Linked DNA regions of Homo sapiens: region 1 is linked to region 2. Evidence: promoter capture Hi-C in 16 types of primary human blood cells and fetal thymus (Javierre and others, 2016). All regions are on one chromosome and are shown on one strand. The core of a region is centred on a gene start or on the middle of the fragment in contact, and the rest is flanking DNA. Distances in the headings are between cores, read along the strand shown.

Region 1 (3,024 bases), core at 316-2,815, 710 kb before region 2:
GATGTTCATTGGCACAAACAGGAGCTTGTTCAATGATAATACAAGGGTAAATGCTTTTGAAATAGGAAAATGGGCCTCACTGCTGAATTCCTTTACAATAATTTGTGTGTTCTAGAAATGAGCTCTGATCACCACAGGGTGTCACTGCCTTACAAGTCAAATTTTCCTCAATTGGTTGAGGTGTATATAGGAATTCTCAGAAGACATTCTTGAGAGATCACAACAAAATGTATAGATAGCAATGCAGCCATTGGGAGATGTGGAGATGCTATAAAATCACATAGAACAAAAAGTGAAAATTTAATTTACACACTCTAAACATCCCCTGAAATCCTATTCTTCTTCCCTCTGTTAACAATTTGTTGTATAGCCTTCCAGATCTTTCCTCCTTGGAGAGAGAGAGACAGAGAAGGACAGGCACAAGATTTAGAAAACATAAATGAGATCCTACTCTCCGTGAGCATGTGTGTGTGTGGTTGTTCAGTATCTTTTTTAATTTGATAACATTTCATTTGCCATCTTTTTTGTCTCATTACATCCAGCTTTATCTCATTCTTCTTAGCAGCTAATGCAGCTATTTCTGAATATTGAAATGATCAGTAATTGATGTCTTTAATCTTTGAAATGTTTGCCTTGATATAGTCCAAAGCTGTGATTCAGACTGGATTTCATTCTGTTGCTCATTATGTGAACACTATACAGTTAATTAGCAAACACTTGGGAGGGTTGGTAGGTGGTGTGTAGTAAGTTGGAAAACAGTTTATGCAAGCCAGATTGCCACCAGAATTTAGAACAGCATAAAATTAAATGCCCTAGGTAATTTACAGGGAGTAAAGGGGAAAAGACCGAGAGAAAGAGACTGTTAGAATACCAATGCATTTTTGTGTCTGCATTATTGTTTGTTTCTGATTGTAAAATAATACATGCTCATTGTAGAAGATGGGAAACAGAAAAATGTATTAAGAAGAAAGCAAACATTACCCTAATCCTACAACCCAGACTTATCCACAGTTAATATTTATTGTTGCTCATATAGCTTATTTCCTTTTTCAAAATTTTTATTATATGATACAACATTATGATTTTAAAGCATTTAAAACAGTACAAAAGGGTATAAAGTAAAAATGAAAAGTTCTCTTCCCACCATCCCTGGTCCTCACTTTCCACAAAGTCATTCACTGTTAACAGTTTCTCTCATAATGTACATTTAAGTGTATTGATATTGGCTTTATTATGAGTATACAAATGTATGGTGTGTGATCTATATACCATAATGGGGTCATACTGCGTTAATTTTTTTATACTACTTTTTTTCCATTTAGCTTTCTATCTTGAGCATACATATCCTATATATAATTCAAATACAACCCAAAGATTCTGGGCATGGAGCTATTTCAAAAAGTTTGACCTGACACTGCCCCCCATGCCATTACATGCCCTTGAGTTTCTAACCTTACACAAAAGACCTGTAGCCTTAGCTGAGGGCCCTTTCCAATGAATCACACATTCATCCTGTGTATATATGGCTCTATTTTATTTTATTTTATTTATTTTTTTGAGACAGGTCTCGCTCTCTCCTAGGCTGGAGTGCAGTGGCGCAATCTCGGCTCACTGCAAGCTCCGCTTCCCGGGTTCACGCCATTCTCCTGCCTCAGCCTCCTGGGTAGCTGGAACTACAGGCGCCCTCCACGACGCCCAGCTTATTTTTTTCATTTTTAGTAGAGACGGGGTTTCACCGTGTTAGCCAGGATGTTCTCAATATACTGATCTCATGATCCGTCCGCCTCTGCCTCTCAAAGTGCTGGGATTACAGGCGTGAGCCACCGCACCGGACCATATGGCTCTATTTTAGACTGTTTGGTAGGAGATATTAGAGGAACGGATATTATAAAGTGCCAAAGACCTGAGTTTAGATCCCAGTTGTATTGGTTGCTAGCTATCTTTTAAAAATAAAATGTTTTGAACAACTTTGTGATATATTTTTATCCTTTAGAGATGAGAAAACAGAGACCAAGCCAGGGAGAAGTGATTATATAAGATCACACAGCTAGTTTGTAGTAGAGCCGGATCACACAAAGGCCTATTTGAACAAGAGGCTATGTGCTTCCCACTCTAACATCTTGGACTTTCTTTAGAACTCCTGTAGGTAACAATGTATTGTATTATTGAAAATCAATGAGAGAGTAGATTTCAAGTGTTCTTACCACAAAAAAAGATAAGTATATAGGTAATATGTATGTTAATTAACTCGACTTAGCCATTCCACAATGTATATACATCTCAAAACATCATGTTGTACATTTATACAGTGCTTCTCAATCAATTAATTAACTTAAAAGATTTACAGGCATATGCCTTCAAGGTTATTGCCTAGCCTTTTCACTAAAGCCTTGATACGAGTTATGTATTCTATTATCTTTCTAGTATCCGATCATCCTCTCTCTGATTCTCTTTTTTTTGTCACATTCCCTTTTTAGGAGAGAAGCCTTATAAATGCACCTGGGATGGCTGCTCCTGGAAATTTGCTCGCTCAGATGAGCTCACTCGCCATTTCCGCAAGCACACAGGCATCAAGCCTTTTCGGTGCACAGACTGCAACCGCAGCTTTTCTCGTTCTGACCACCTGTCCCTGCATCGCCGTCGCCATGACACCATGTGAGCCGCACAGGTCACACTAGAGAAGCTGCGCTGGTATCTTTCCTGGTCGTGTGCTGAGGTTGGGACAATTTTTTCCTCTTTGACTTCAGCTTGCATATGGGGTTGAAGCAGCCCACTGAGCCAAGTTGAGGAGACTGGAGGAAAAGAGAGCTGGTCTCCCGTGGGGCTCTTCATATTCTACCTTCACTTCTCCACTGTCCAGACCCGTTTTTTTCAACCTCCACATGGGTTGAATTCCAGTGTGGCACCCATGGCTGCCTTCCCATCCCCCCCTGCTCTGAAATAGGACATTTTTCCTACAGTAACAAAACAGGAATCAAACTCAAGGCTGTGAACAAACATACGCTGCTTTATTCTTTCCAATTT
Region 2 (3,088 bases), core at 47-2,546:
TTGCTTCTACCTGATGAATGACCATGCCAGTTCTCTTGGAGCCATCGTCTTTGGCGTATTCCACCTGTTTGCCTACCAGGCTGTCTATGACTTCTCCTGGCTCCCTCTCTGCCAGAGGAGAATCATTGGAATCTTGAAGGATGCGGAGGTCACCATCTTTATAATCATCTAAGAGCTGGTACATATATAATACAGGATCTTTCTCATAGGTAATGTAAAACCATGTGTTCATGACAGGTGCCTGAGCTAAGACCATCCCCCTCCATTCATTTTTGGAACCTTCCTCTGTCTCAAAAATATGTTCCACTGCTTTGCCAACCATTATTTCTGCCAAGTGTGTATCACTGATTCTAGATGATGCAACTCTATTAGGAAGGACTTCAAGTGATGACACTCTTTCATCTCTGTGAAGTTCCAATCCATAAACACAGTCAAATCCATCATATTTGATAAGATACAGAGAGGGATTTACAGGTACCTGATCCAGAACGGTTCCTTTCCACTGTGTTAGAGGTTCATCTCCATCTTTCCATCCGTGCTGAATTCTGCAGCCCACGATGTTCCCCCGAGGCTGGGAGGTGGGTCGGCTCCTATGCTTCTTGTGTGCAGCCTTCCTCTTTATCATGGTAACAGACACACTGCCGTGGCCAGCGCCCGTCCTGGACCGCTGCCCTGCAGCTGCCTTTCCAAACGGGGTCTTCATGCCTGCGAAGAGGAGCACAGTTGCCAGGTGGACCGAGAAAGGAAATTAACAAAATCAATGCATAACACGGAGAGCTTTTTCTCCTAATCAGCGCACCCAGTAAACCCACACCTGTTTTTCCCGAAAGCTAGATAGCAAAGCTGGAAATCAAGGCACCCTGGCTGAGTGCCTGCAGTAACCTTCCTCCCCAGCTCAGTCTGGCTAAGATCTGCGGTTCGGTGAAATACGAAGCGTTTCCCCATTCCCCTCGCCCTGCTTCCAACACTACCCGGCCAGGAGGCGCAGATTCCCCACCGTCCCGGATTGCGGGCCTCAAGTGCACAAATCGGACACCTCGCCGTTGCCTCCGCAGTGAGCCTATGGAGGAGGAAAATCAGCGGGCGAGCAGCCCGGTGCTTGCAAAAGCTGGGAGAGGATGATCCATAGGCAATGAGTGTCTCTAAGAGGGCGGCGGGGCAGGCGAAGATGACCGTGGCGGCGTCCCTTGCTCTTGGCTCCTGCGTCCTCCGCCTTCCTGGTGGCGGCGGCGGTGGCGGTGGCCGCAGCCCCTCTCCCACATCGGACTCCCACTAGTCGCTGCTGCGCCGCAGTCTCCTCCTTCTTTTTCTAGCGCAGCTTCCGGTCAGTAGAGAGGCCTCCCCTTCCTGCCAAACACCGCGTGGCGCCCCTCCCCCACCAACCTGTACCACAGCCCTGGGCGTGGAAGGTGCTCCTAGGCTCTCGGTCTCGCAGCTTCCTCCAAATCAGAAGCTGTGGAGCCCACAACCACCTCTCTCTCACTGCATTGGTTTACCTCTTCTGGTTTAGCACGCGCCCCTCCCCTCACCTAACCTCAACCCTCTGCGCCCCTGCCCCTTCTGCTTTCCACCTTTCAGGAATTAGCCCTTTCCTTTCCCCTCCCTCCCCGCGTCCCCCCACCCTCCATTGAAGGGGATTTGTGGTAGGACAAGAGAAATGCGCTACTGCTCAGTGTTCAGGCTGCCATCTTGACCCAATCTACGTAATTTTTACTGACTTGTCATTCCCAGACTTAACTTCTTGAGGATTTCTTTTCTTTTCCCCTGATTGCAAAAGAATTGCATGCACAATATTGACACTGTAAAATTCAGAAAATTGACATGAAGAGAAAATAATTAACTAAGCCGGCCTCCCATTTTCCAGGGCTCACAGTGAAATATTAACACTATTTCCTTTTCCTTTTTTCTAAGCTCTTACAAAGCTTGGATAATTTTGAATATGCACTTTCATGTCCTGCTCATTTCCATGTAGAATAAACATTTGCTCAATTTTTTAGATATTTTCTGAGAACATGTTTTGTAGTAGCTTCATAAAATTAAGCATTAGGATTTTTCATAATTTTGCCGTTGCCTCCTATCTTCAGACGTTTAATTGTTAAATACCTATAAATTGTGCTTGCGCATGAATTATTCTGTTCACTTGAACAGAATAACCTAGACACTAAACTTAGAACAATTGCTATAATTAAAACAGGAATTTGTGAGATCATAAATCTGTGGAGAAAGACATTTTAGAAGTGATTCAATCAGTTTTATCGTTACAGCCATCCTAGTGGGTATGAAGTGGTACCTAATTGTGGTTTTAATTTGCATTTCTCTAATGACTAATGAGGATGAGCATCTTTTTGTGTGCTTGTTGGACATTTGTGTATCTTTGGAGAAATGTCTATTTCAAGTGCTTTGTTCATTTTTTAAATGAATTGTTTGTAGCAGGGCTGTTAATTGTTCTTTTTAAATTCTGGATGAGAGAACCTTATCAGATATATGATATGAAAATATTTTATCCCGTTTTGTGGGGTGTCTTCACTTTCTTGATAGTATTTTTGATGCACAAAAGCTTAAAACTTGGTTGTGCGTTTGGAGTCACACCTAAATAAACACTGCCAAATCCAAGTTCATGAAAATGTACCCCTATATTTTCTTGTAAAATTTTGTTTGTTTTTAGCTCTTATATTTATGTCTTTGACCCATTTTGAGTTAATTATTATGTATGGTGTGATGAAGGGGACCAAATTCATTGTTTTGCACATGGATATCCAGTTGTCTCAGCACCTTCTGTTGAAGAGACAATTCTTAGCCTTTTTAATTGTCTTGGCATACTTGTTGAAAATCAATTTAGTACAGATGTATAGGCTTATATCTGGACTCTTAATTCTATTTCATAGAATTTTATGCAAAAACCACGTTTTTAATTTATCTTTATGCAAGAACCACATTTATTTTTTGATTACTGTAACTGTGCAGTATGTTTGAAATCAGTAAGTGTGATTTCTCTGAAAATATTATTAAGATTGTATTGGCTACTCATGCTCCTTTTTTTTTTTTTTTTTTTTTTTTTTTTTTGAGACAGAGTCTTGCTCTGTCGCCC

What was found. Contacts are between HindIII fragments. The CHiCAGO score rates a contact against its expected background, and 5 or more counts as called.
Region 1: a fragment that was not itself captured here is called in contact with the fragment with the promoter of SPIN3 in region 2 in 1 of 17 cell types (naive CD4 T cells); the score reaches 5.4 in naive CD4 T cells.

What each region holds. Positions count from the first base shown.
Region 1 is chrX:56,281,836-56,284,859 of GRCh38, forward strand. It overlaps KLF8 (KLF transcription factor 8), which reads left to right. Exons shown (of 6, transcript NM_007250.5): 6 at 2,478-3,024. The coding sequence ends at 2,659. Among named protein-coding and RNA genes, the nearest start is that of KLF8, 51 kb to the left of the region's middle. The HindIII fragment of the contact is 7,753 bases long and covers 1-3,024 here.
Region 2 is chrX:56,994,245-56,997,332 of GRCh38, forward strand. It overlaps SPIN3 (spindlin family member 3), which reads right to left and starts at 1,297. Exons shown (of 2, transcript NM_001010862.3): 1 at 972-1,297; 2 at 1-705. The coding sequence starts at 703. RefSeq lists an enhancer at 1,229-1,328. The HindIII fragment of the contact is 2,350 bases long and covers 1-1,920 here.